Linked DNA regions of Homo sapiens: all the other regions are linked to region 3. The links are contacts of gene promoters, found by promoter capture Hi-C in blood cells and fetal thymus (Javierre and others, 2016). All regions are on one chromosome and are shown on one strand. Each heading gives the region's core, a stretch centred on a gene start or on the middle of the fragment in contact. The rest is flanking DNA. Distances are from core to core; before and after follow the strand shown.

Evidence for each region. Contacts are between HindIII fragments. The CHiCAGO score rates a contact against its expected background, and 5 or more counts as called.
Region 1: a fragment that was not itself captured here is called in contact with the fragment with the promoter of SYBU in region 3 in 2 of 17 cell types (total B cells and naive B cells); the score reaches 9.1 in total B cells.
Region 2: a fragment that was not itself captured here is called in contact with the fragment with the promoter of SYBU in region 3 in 2 of 17 cell types (total B cells and naive B cells); the score reaches 9.5 in total B cells.

Annotation. Positions count from the first base shown.
Region 1 is chr8:109,547,642-109,552,148 of GRCh38, reverse strand. It overlaps EBAG9 (estrogen receptor binding site associated antigen 9), which reads right to left. Exons shown (of 7, transcript NM_004215.5): 2 at 1,242-1,339. The coding sequence starts at 1,324. Among named protein-coding and RNA genes, the nearest start is that of EBAG9, 9.7 kb to the right of the region's middle. The HindIII fragment of the contact is 4,370 bases long and covers 1-3,762 here.
Region 2 is chr8:109,517,103-109,521,056 of GRCh38, reverse strand. PKHD1L1 (PKHD1 like 1) reads right to left here. Exons shown (of 78, transcript NM_177531.6): 73 at 2,549-2,890. Among named protein-coding and RNA genes, the nearest start is that of EBAG9UORF, 21 kb to the left of the region's middle. The HindIII fragment of the contact is 663 bases long and covers 1,397-2,059 here.
Region 3 is chr8:109,642,003-109,646,201 of GRCh38, reverse strand. SYBU (syntabulin) reads left to right here and starts at 1,380. Exons shown (of 7, transcript NM_001099754.2): 1 at 1,380-1,566; 2 at 3,270-3,474. The coding sequence starts at 1,543. SYBU-AS1 (SYBU antisense RNA 1) reads right to left here and starts at 2,073. Exons shown (of 2, transcript NR_161375.1): 1 at 1,980-2,073; 2 at 1-1,084. RefSeq lists enhancers at 696-1,015, 677-1,613 and a silencer at 1,126-1,615. The HindIII fragment of the contact is 4,274 bases long and covers 1-2,937 here.

The DNA of each region.
Region 1 (4,507 bases), core at 328-2,827, 94 kb after region 3:
TAAGCTCTGGAAAGCAGGCAGTGCAAAAATTGTTGTGTGTAACCTCTAAGTCATGTCTATATATATTAAAAAAAGAGCTGATTGCTGTCCATTTCCTCTTTTACTATACCCTCCTCTTAGTATGTAAGTAACTTTTTCACAGTACCCTTAGGCCACAGAAACACCTAACAATTCCACTGAATAAGGTAGTTACACCCAAAAAACTTAAGTATATCCTAACTGCTTAGTAGCCATTGTAAAAAATACACATTTAAAGAAAAAGTAATATTTTTATTTTATTCTTAAATAACCACAATCACTGAACTTATTAATGAAATTTGTGTGCCTGTTGAACACTGCACAGCTTCTTATGCCTTAGAATAAGACTGGAGACCATCATTCTTGTTTTCAGTTCTACATTAATTTTGGTGCAGTACTCGCTTTTAATTACAACCTAAAATCCTGGCTTTGCAATGAGATGTCACCAAAAATATAAGTAAACAAAAACTTATCTCAAACATTAAAGAACACCATCATAAAAAAATACTGCAGGATTTAATGTTGCAAATGTGAACTACTTTGAGTTGAGGTATTCAACAGATGCTATCACTATGTTTCACTGCAAAATTTAAAATATTCTATGGCATCCCTGTGAATTTCATGTAAAGCCCTGAGGTGCCTCAGCACACATTTTAGACATCATAGCTCTTGGGTATGATCGTGTGACAAAACAGAAGGAACTGAAGTCTACAGATGATGTCCTAAAGCAAATGACTTACCTGCTCTTGACTTCCTGCATATTCTAGAATGTTACTCAAACAGAAAAAAAAATTTTTTTTTTTTAGGATTTTTCTTAGGATTTTTTTTTAAATATAAAAACAACACTATTGTAGTATAGACAGAAATACCTATTCCGAATTTCACCTAACCACTTTAAAACATTCCCATAATGAAACGAATACATCAAAGTTCTGTGATGATTATAATAATGAAAGTTGGTCTGTCTATTCCTAAATAGTATTAAGCATGTTATTTTAGTGGAAAGTGTAAGAATTTGAATGAACAAAACAACTGAACCTCTATTTTCTAGATCTGAAGTAGAGAAAAAGTATCTAAAAATGACTAGGAATTAATGAATAAATACTGCAATCAAGATATTCAGCTTAAATATAACCTGTCCTGTCCACGAAATTTGAAGTTTTGAAGGTATCCAAAACCAGCGAGGAGATAAACAGGTTAGTTTGAACATAAAACTTATTTACCTGCATATTAATCTCTTTAGGAATGAGAATACTGTTGCTAGGCAGGTACAAAATTTAAATAACCGAAACTGGGTGATGGCCATGGTGGGAATCAAAACCTGTGGAAGAGGCACAAAACAAAAAATGCATTAAATTGATTTCAAAAGTCATACTCCTGTCCTGAAAAGACCTATTATGCACTAAGAAAAATCTAAGATATTTTTTACCTTTCTCTAGAAACTATAACACAGTAAATTTTAAAATTATAATTTAAATCATATTAACAAGTCAAAAACCAGGTTTTCGAGTTTTCAATGGTTGTAAGGATAAAACCCTTCATTCTGAGTTTTTGAAAATAATTTTACCTAAATCTATTAATACAAAAATCTACAATTCAAAAAATAAAAAAGTATAAAATAGAATATATTAAATCTCTGTGTACCTTTTAAAGTTTGAACCACATGAACATAATACTATTTAAAATACTTTAAATATTTTTAACTTGCAGATGAATATATTTCCTTATATCCATTTTATAGATGAGGAAATTGAATTAAGAGAGGTCAAATAACTTGACCAAAGTCACATAGCTAGTAAATTGAAAGTTACCATGGAGCTCATTTAGTCCAGTGGTTCACAAATCTGGGAATCTATTAAAGAAATGCCAATACCTAGGAGTACCTCTAGTAAGTCCATTAAATCATATATTCTGAGGGGCAAGGACTGGTCATAACCAATAAGACAAGCAGGGAGATAAAAACTACTCAATTGAAAAGGCAGCAGGAAACAAAGAAAAGAGAACAAATAACACATGGGACAAGCCAAAAACAAATAAGATGACAGACGTAAATCTAACCATATCAATAATCTCATTAAATGCAAATTGTATAGCATTCCAATTGAAAAGCAGAGATTGTTAGATTGAATAAGAAAGAAAGACCGCCCCACTCCATGTTGCCAATGAGAAATGCATTTTAAATAAAAAGACACAAATAGGTTAAAAGTAAAAGGATAGGAGAAAATATACTATGCTAGCACTAATCAAAAGAAAGGTGAAGTGACTATTTCAATGTTAGACAGATTATAGGAAAAATAACATTACCAGGTATAAAAGTGGTCATTTCACAGTGATAAAGGGGTCAATTAATAAAAAGTACATAACAATCTAAAACACGTGTCCTTAATAACAGACTTTTGCCAATATCATAAACAAGACAGATAACATTGTTAGAGTCTGCAGATATTAAAAGGATACTGAAGAACTATTACAAACACCTTTGTGCCTGTATTTACTTGACAAGTGAGATGAAATGGACAACTTCCCTGAAAGACACAAATTACTAAAGCATAAGAAGAACAACCTGAAAATCTATATATCTATTAAAGAAATTATATTTGTAGTTATAAAAATCTCCCAGACACAGATGGCTTCACTGGTAAATTCTACAAAACACTTAGGAAGGAATAATACCAATTCTATACAAACTGCCAAAAAACTGAAGAAGGAATATTTCCCCAACTCATTATTTGAGGCCAGTATTACACTGATACTAATCCAAAGATATTACTAGAAAAGAAAACTATTAATATTCTATGAATCTAGACACAAATCTCCTTAGCCAAATATTAGTAAATTAAATCCAACAATATATAAATGGATACTACATTGTGAAAAACTGGTGCTTAGTTTGGAAATGTTGGATTGGTTTAACATTTAAAAATCAAATGTCATTCACTATATTAGCAAACTAAAAACAAAAAACCATATAAACATCTCAATAGAGACAGAAAAAGCCTTTGACAAAACTCAACATCCATTCCTGTTAAAAAAAAAAATTGCAGCAAAGTATAAGGGAACTTTCTCAACCTGATCAAAAACATCTATGAAAAACCTACAGTAATATGAGACTTAATGGTAAAAAAATTTGATAATTTCTCCCTAAGATCATGAACAACACAAGCATGTCTGCTTTTTCTACTTTTAGTCAACATCGTAGTGGAAGTTCTGGCCAATGCAATCCAGCAAAAAAAAAAAAAAAAAGAAAAAAGAAAAAAATAGAAAAGAAATAAAAGGCATCCAGAATGGAAAGGCAGAAATAAAAGTGTGATATTCTATGTGGAAAATTCAACGGGATCTACCATTAATTGTATTTCTATACGTTAACAACAATCAATAAGAAATTGAAACGTTAAAAAAATTTATATAGGCATAAAAAAATGATACTTGAGGACAAATCTAATTAAGGACTTGACTACTGAAAACTATCAAATATTGCTGAGACAGTTAAAAGGCCTATTAATTTAAAAAGACTTTTTCAGAGACAGAATATTTTTATTAAGATATCAACATTTCCCAAAATGAGTTATAGATTCCAGGCAATCTCAACCAAAATCTGGGCAGGTTTTTTCTTTAAAACTTGACAAGCTAATTTCTAAAGTTCATATGGAAATGCAAAGAACGTATATAACAGCCAAAACAACATTGAAAAAGAACAAGGTAAAACAGCTAGCACTATCTGGTTTCAAGACTTGTTATAAAGCTTCAGTAATCAAAACTGTGTAGTATTGGAATCAAAATACACGAATAGATCAATGGAAAGTAAAGGAATAGACCCACGTATATACAAAAACTGAAATCTGATAAAGATGCAAAGGTAATTCAGAGAGAAAAGAATAGTTATTAAGAAAAAAAAAGTGCTGGTTAAACTGGATATCCATATCCATATGGAAAAAATCAAAACAAAAACCTTCTATATATATCTGGCACCAGTTAAAAGTAATTAAAAATAGATTATAGACCTAAATGTAGTCTGAAACTACAAAATTTGCAAGAAAAAAAAACAACACAACTTTGTGACCCTGGGTTAGGCAAAGATTTTTAGGTAGTACAACAAAAGCACAATCCATAAAATAAAAGATTAGTAAATTGGATTTTATCAAAATTAAAAACTACAATTCAAAAACACTATTAATGGAATGAAAAGACAAATCACAGACTGAGAGAAAAATCCTTGCAAAGCATATGTCTAATAAGGGACTTAAACCCAGAATATATAAGAACCTCTCAAAATTCAAAAATAATTTTTAAAAACTCAATTTAAAAACGAGCAAAAGGTCTAACTAGACATTTCATCAAAAAACATATACAAGGCCAGGCGTGGTGGCTCACACCTGTAATCCCAGCACTTTGGGAGGCCGAGGCGGGCGGATCACGAGGTCAGGAGATCAAGACCATCCTGGCCAACACGGTGAAACCCTGTCTCTACTAAAAATACAAAAAATTAGCC
Region 2 (3,954 bases), core at 479-2,978, 130 kb after region 3:
CATACTCCCTCCAGAAACAGCCTTCTCCAGGGAGGCCTCCCAAGTCTGAGGGCTTGTATATCTAGCTGTAGCAGTACAGAACTGCTTCAGGTCCATGCACTACTATTACTACTTTGTCTTCACTGGTTTTTGGCATGGAGTGGCAGGTCTGATGCAGTCTGCACTGTTAACAGGTTCTCGCTGACCGTTCGACATGTGAGGGCATTCATTTCTGCTGATTGCCATCTAGAAACCAAAGACCTTAACTTGAAGGCCTCTTATTCCTGGCTGTAGGACTGTCTGCTCATAAATGCCTTTAATACATAGGTAACCCCTTTCTAGGACATCTGGGAATTTCTGGATATCCTGATACTATATAAAAGCTATAAGGAGCCAGGAGTACAACTACATGAACATCTTTCTTGCCACTTCTCAACATTTTGCTGTGATTCACCAAGTTGTAGGGTTCTCCTTGAGACTTGAAACACTATCGCAGTCTATGTCTAGAAAATGTGCCATTAGCCTGTCCCTCCCACCATCCCTAACTTCTACATTCTTCAGTGGTCTTATACCTGTCTGGATAAATCTAACAAGCTAAAACTGCTTTAAGGGGATGGATGTAGGAGGGATTGTATGTGGGGAAATATATGTCACATGTAAGAAATAAATCCCAGTTTCTTTGGATATCTAGTGGCTAGTGTGGTAAATTTTGGACCTCACGACACGTAAGGGCTCACCAGGGATTTCTAAGAGTAGGTGAGTAATCTGTATATGTGCCATGGGCCCTTTACAACTCCTAAAATAACAGGCAAAGTCATGCTGAGTCCAAACCCTGAGCCTGTAAGTCCAAGTGAGTACAGAACTGACGAAGGAAAGTTAACTATTACTCTGGGCAGAGAACATCGTGGGAGATCTGGTTGCAACACAAGCCTAGGCTTCCTACGCTCTTCTAACCAAGAGTTTATAAACACCTCCCTCCACACAGGCAAGCCTTCCCACAGGCTTATCCCCCCAATGGAAGAAACTTCCACCTGCTTAGCTGATAGAATTCCAGAGTGATAATGTGGTAGGTGCATAGGGTCAATGCCTAGAAGCAAACCTCTTGGGAAAATGAGTGAAGATCTCTAGTGGCATAAAGTGAGAACTTCACCCAGTACCCAGGTTTACACAGAGCCTGGGAGTTTAATGATAAAGTGACTGAACACAGGTAGATAGGGTAGATCCCAACCTAGTGGGGCTGCAGTTTATATATGTCTGGACGATCTCTTTAGGAAAAGGAATGCAGAAAAATCATACCTTTGTAGCTTTCATAATAACATTCAATGATTTGACCACATTATGAGGACCTCTCCTAAGGTATTGAAAGTGAAAGCCCCTCCCAGGACTTGTATCAGTGAGGGGGCTTGAAGTGTAAGCTTCATTAACTGGATGGTAAGTCTTCCTCTGACAGATACCTGCCTTTCCTGTTCTTGGGGAGGGGTACACCTAGATCAGAGTACTTGTGCTTGACCACTGAAGACAAAGGCATGGTTGCAGGTTAGCAGTGGGGGATATTATTGCATCCCAGAAGACCAGGAAAGTTCAGTAGTACCTCAAGAGATGCATATGTAGAGCAGAGAAGATGACCCACTCTGTACCAGAGGCTGTGAAGACAAGATGATAACATGAGGACGGAGGCCAGAACAGCCCCTTGGTATTCAGACCCCAACTTGAAAGGAGCAGATGGATAGAGAAAATTTGAAGAGCTGAGCATTTACTCAAGTGCCCAAACTGAGTGACCCTAAGGAAATGATTTCAGCCAGCAGAGATTTCTCTGATGGGACAGTTGAGCTTATTTTTTTATCTCTGATAAAAAATAGGAAGTGAGGGACACAGAGAGGGGATGATGGCTTGTGAGGATGATTCGCTCAGTCACAGGAAATAAAGACAGATTATGTACTTGCACATCTGCCCTTTTTGGGCTGAATCTGTGACTTTACTGTGGAAATCTAACCCACCAATCTACTGCTCAGAATATCCAAGAATATTTACTCTTTTTCTTAAGAAAACATCCACAGTCCTTCCTTTGACTTCCAAAGCTTTCCACATCTAGCACCTGTCTACCCCTTGGCTACACCTCCAGCAGCTTGTCCTTCCTGGCTCCTTCCACTCCAGACCAATCGGACCTGTTTCCTCTCTTCAAATGCACCAAACTCTCACCAACAGTTTCCATAGCTTGAACACTCTTTTTCCTCTGTCTTTTCATTGACTATCTTCATCCTTAATCTCTCATCTGTAAGGTCACTTGCTTAAGTAGGTCTTCCCAGATCTTTTTATATTAGATCAAATTCTTTTGTTGAACTTATTAATCATCACAATAACAAAACAGAGATTCAAATTCCTTCCAATTCTAAAACAGTTTGGTAGTACAGGAGCAAAGAAGGAAAAAGGGTCTCTGGGCACTTAGAGGGTTCAGGATGTGGGGTTGATGGGATTTCCTGAGGCCAGGCTCACCAAGCCCTGATCAGGTTATTTATGGATATGGATTTGGTAATTGCATTCCTCCATCTCAAACACCTGTTATTCATACCTGTGGTGCCATTGCTTATGAACTGAATAGGAGGGTCTCCAATCTCTATTTCAATTATGAATCCCATGGATCTCTTCCTCCTCAGACTCTTCCCTCTTATTTTGCTGATACGGATTTTGTCACTTGGTATCTTTAGGAACAAGGCAAGATTTTTAACCAGATTGTGAGAGGTATAAAAGTCATCTTCTGTTGCAACAGATAATTGGAAAGAAACAAATATCACTGTGGCAGTGTGAATTTCAACAGGTATAGTTCCTTTAACCAAAAGATAAAGCATCTGGTAGGTTCCATCAAAGTAGTTTTCACCAAGGACAGTGGAATCCAGGTTAGGAAGGAATTGGTCTATGAAGGAAAAAAGCCAGAACATCACAGCTAAGTATTTTATATTATCACAATCAACATGCGTTACTTAATGTTTGTTTGAATTTAGAAAGTCCCCCAAATTCAACTTTATCATTCTTTCATAAGAAAGCATACCTTTTTAAAAACAAAAACACTTATAGAACTGACCTGCGAAATTAAAGCCACTCCTTTAAAAAATACCACAAATAATCATTACACATTGTTTGTTTTTTAAAAATTAGCTATATAGACACAGTATAAATGAGAAACAAATCAAGTTATGATCCCAGGAGCCTATACTGTAGTTGAAACCCTATTCACATGCTCATAATTTTAAAGCCTTGACTGAAGGCATTTGGTAATTTAAAAATATAAATTTAACTTTACTAGCTATCTAATTTATACAGTGCTATATGCCAACTCTTAAAAGAGCATTTACAATTCAGTGTTTCTATTTTAACTAAGGACAAAACTGTGTAATAAAAATGAAGTATACATTAAAACATCTCAGAAGAATCTTATACCAACTAAACAGGCTTACATTTCAGCCTGAAAAATGTTTGGCTAATGCAAGACAAATTCTGCTAGGAAACTGAATTTTACAAAAGTGATTGAGATCATTATAATGAATGAATATATGTATGATTTTATGGCAGAGTATCAACAATTTCTAAGAGCTAACAAACCCACTAACACTTATTGAGCCCAGACAAACACTGAATTGTGTAATAGTGGTGGAATGAGATATGTAGCTTCTTACCACATTTCATTGTGAGGCTTACTAGGAAAAAGAAATTAAAATTTTAGGAAGAAGAAGGAATTTCACAGTAATGAAAGGAGCAGAGACAAAGATCATAAACATTTGGGTAACTCCCAAAATATGTATAGGTTCATAACACAGGGATATTATTTTGCATGCCAAGTGCCAAAGCAAAACGTTCACTTAAAAGCAACGCTGTTTCAGAAAAACACCACTACCACTACCATAAAACACACATTTATCTGTAAGAGGGCAGTGGCGGAGTTGTTTTCTGGCTCTTCAGCACCTACATTATCAATTCTTT
Region 3 (4,199 bases), core at 131-2,630:
TGAATAAAGGGTATATAAGTCATTATACATGGTGAATTCCACCACCAGATAAGATTTAAGGGTAGCAATTGTAATAAATCAAGGCCCTTGGCCCAGCTGATGTACCCTATTCTAAGTCCCCAGTTGGACAGATTTTCGAGCTTTCTTAAACAAATTTGTGTGCATCACAAATGCTTTTTCTGCCTGTCATGTAAAAGGCATCAACAAATATTGACTGGATCATCTGGACCTGACTTAGCTGCCCTTTGGAAAGTTCTGTTCAATCAGCTGGATAGAGCTGTTTGTTTTCCTCACCTAACCCTCACAGCTATCCTAGAGGTAGGTATCACTATTATTATCCCTCAATTTAACAAGGGTAAATTTGAAGTTCAGAAGGGTCAAGAACCGTAGGCGTAGGCCACGCATGCAATGGCATCCGCATGTAATTCGAGCACTTTGAGAGGCCTGGACGGGATGATCCCTTGATCCCAGGAGTTAGAGGTTGCAGTGAGCCCTGATCGCGCCACTGTACTACAGCCTGGGCCACAGAACGAGATGCCGTTTCAACAGCAACGGAAAAAAAAAAAAACAAAAAACGAAACAACAACAAAAACTTTAGGCATAAAGGCACTCAGGCTGAAGGGACCGATTGGAGTGCTGGCTTGAACTCGTTTTTCTGAGTTCAATTCCAGTGCTCTTCCCTTAGCAGTGTGCTGGAGCTACTTCCTGGAGCCGGGCAGCTGCAGGGCAGCGCTGGGGAAAAGACTGTTCTCTGGCTACATAGCAGCCTGGCTTCTCCAAGCCGGAGGGAGCTGCGCTGACCACTGAAGGCCTTTCTGATGCAACCCCTTCCAAGTAGAATCCATCGCAGCCTTTCAGATCCCGGAACCCAGAGGCTGTGTCGGTCCTGACGCACTGGCTTGGCTGGGCTCCGGTACGAGAGGGATCTCTGCAGCTCTCGGGCGAGGCAGTTGTGGGGAGCTGTAGGCTGACTTAAGACCTGGAGGCCAAGGAGGGGTGGCCAGGGGAAAACTTTCTCTATTTTGTCTCTCTGTGATGTCGCAGCTTTTCTCAGTCACTCCATCCAACGCCACCCACTTCAAACCTGAGATCAAGTGCAAAAAAAAAAGAGGGTGGGGTCACCCCTGGGCTGGAGATGCCGCTAGCCGCAGCCTGCCTACACCGGGCCGAGCTCCTTGGAGAGGGAGGGACACCGGCTCTGGCTGGGGGGGCGCGGAGTGCCGTGGGGAAATCGGGCGGGTGGGGCGCGCCCAGGCGCGGTCGAGTTGCCCCGAAGGCCGCAGGTGAGGGAGGGCGTGGGAGGCGCCCCAGGAGCTGCCTCTAGCGAGTGCGGCACCACGTGTCCGGCCGGGGCGGGGTCGGGCGTGCCCTCGGAGCCCAGAGCAATCGGCGGCAGTGGCGGCGGCGGCGCGTTGGAGCCTCACCAAGAGCCGCCGCCCGCAGCCCGCGCCGGCTCAGCGCAGTCTCCTCGCTCCGTGCTCGCAGGTGCCTCCTCCTGGACGGCGGCAGCGGCGGCGCGAGGAGCCGGCGGGCAGCGGCGCGATGGGGCCCCTCCGCGAGAGCAAGGTAAGGAGCGCGGGGCAGTGCGGGCACTGGAGGGCGGGGAAGGCGGGCACTGCGGGGCGAGAAGCGGCGGGATGAGAGCTGGAGGGGTGACATTTAGAGTCTGGGGAAAGGTGGAAGGAGGTGGTGGTGGGGTCTGGAGAAGGCAGGAGGCATTGCTTAGGAGTTGAGATCCAGGAGATGGGGAGGTGGTACTGGAGGAATAGATTTTGGAGAATGACATGATTGGAGGGTTAATCCCACCTCCTGAAACTGGGACTGTGGGGTGTAGCTTTCAGTTGATATCCTGTGTGTGTGATGTGAATGAAAGGAATTTGATGCATCCGCGACTGGGAAAAGAGGACTCCCGCGTGTCAGTGACCCTGCCTTAGCTCAGGGTCTGCGGTGTGCCCGGCGGAGTGGCTGGCGCATGGTACCTGCTGGGCGGCAGATGTGCAGGGCGAATCCGAGGCTGCGTGCGGCTGGCGGCCCCCGGGTAGAGTGGATGCCTGAGGGCCCTCCGAAGTTCCCCATTGCTGAGGTTTACCCTTCAATTTATGCCATGTGCCGGCCTCCCAGAGGTGTTTATTTTGGCCGTGACCCTTCCTGGTAAGCCGGTGGAAGGAACAGTAGGTCATGTTTCGAAAGGGTGTTTGTTACCTAAGCCAAAGAGTCCCTTTCAGTGGCAGAGGTTGGAGGAAGCAGTGGAATTTTTGCAAAACGCTCCTCCTAGGAATCCATTTTCATAAGGCAGGGTGGTGGTGACCCTGCAAAGCACTGGATTTGAATTTCGTTCTACTTCTGGCATGGTGTGCAGAATTGCCTAAGCATCTCTACCCCATTTAGCCTGTTTCCTCATCTGAAAATAGGGACATTCATTGGTGTGCTCTCTATGTACAGTCTGGTGTGTAAAGATCAAATGAGAAAATGGTTGGAAAAGCACTTTATAAGTTGGAAAACATTGTGAAAATATTACTGTTACGCATTTTTAAAACCACGAAATGGCAGGGTACTTCATGCTGCGTTTTTAAGGAGAAAGAAAAATCTCTTCTTATGGATGTCCTGTAAGGAAAACAAAAATTAAAGATGATGTAAAAGGTGGAGCCATCTTCCCGAGTATCGGATTTGTGTTTGCTTTTCTGTTGGCAACAAGCCTTGTGTACCAGGATATTAACGAATAATTAAGATCCTGTCCAGAAGAGGAGGGATTTTAAAGATAATTGTGTGTGAGCTATCAGGAAATAACTGTTCCAGGTATAGGGTTCAACTTTGTGAGGAGACAAGAAAACAAGTCAGACTGTCACAGCTAATTTAGGGAAAGCAAAATGGAAGTCTGAAGGCTATCAAGTAAGCCAGAGTGTGGTGTTAATAAAGAGCCTTTGGGAGGCAGAAGCTTGAATGTGATAGAAGTCAGGGTGGGAAGGTGAGTCAGGACCAGCATAGGGAAGTAGGATGGCCTTCCAGCTAGTGAGTGGAGGTGTGTATATGTGTGTGTGTGTGTGTGTGTGTGTGCCACACAGACATGTGCTATTCAGTAGATTAGAAAGGTTAACTCATTGGAAGAGTTTTGAAGCTCATTTCAGCAACTGAGATAAGAAGGACTACTCTGTGAAGACTCAATACTCAGAAATGTGATTTCTTAGAAATTGATCCTTGAAGGAACCGACAGGAGTTAAGAGAGGGAAACGCGTTTCCTTTTGTTTTCTTTTTTGATGTCCAATTTTGAGAAGGAGCACAGAGTGCAGCATCATGACAAGGAGATTTCTCGAAGCCGAATTCCCCGGTTGATTCTTCGGCCCCATATGCCCCAACAACAGCACAAAGTGTCCCCAGCCTCTGAGTCTCCTTTCTCTGAGGAAGAGAGCAGAGAGTTCAACCCCAGCAGCTCTGGGCGCTCAGCGAGGACCGTTAGCAGCAACAGCTTCTGCTCAGGTACAGTACCCTCGGGAGGCCACCAGAGGCGTGAAGCGTGTGCACTGCAGGTGCATTGTGAATGGGCCCATACTGGGTCCCTTATAGCCTAGAACTACACTTCTACTATTAGGATGAATTGTAGAAGGTGGTACATTTCTGGCTGTTGTGACCTACAAACACAGCAGTTTCATATAGTTCAGTTTATTGGAATCTCACACCTGAATTTTCATATGTTATTCTAGCTTATAATTTCGAATGTAAAATCTAACTTCTTGTTTCTATGACTTTTTTCCTTTGTTTTATTATACTTTAATTTCTGGGATACACGTGCAGAACATGCAGGTTTGTTACATAAGTATACACATGCCATGGTGGTTTGCTGCACCCATCAACCCATCATCTACATTAGGTATTTCTCCTAATGCTATCCCTCTCCTAGCCCCCACCCCCTGACAGGCCCTGGTATGTGATGTTCCCCTCCCTGTGTCCATGTGTTCAACTTCCACTTATGAGTGAGAACATGCGGTATTTGGTTTTCTGTTCCTCTGTTTAGTTTGCTGAGAATGATGGTTTCCAGCTTCATCCATGTCCCTGCAAAGGACATGAATTCATCCTTTTCTGTGGCTGCATAGTATTCCTTGGTGTATATGTGCCACATTTTCTTTATCCAGTCTATCATTGATGGGCATTTGGGTTGGTTCCAAGTCTTTGCTATTGTGAACAGTGCTGCAATAAACATACGT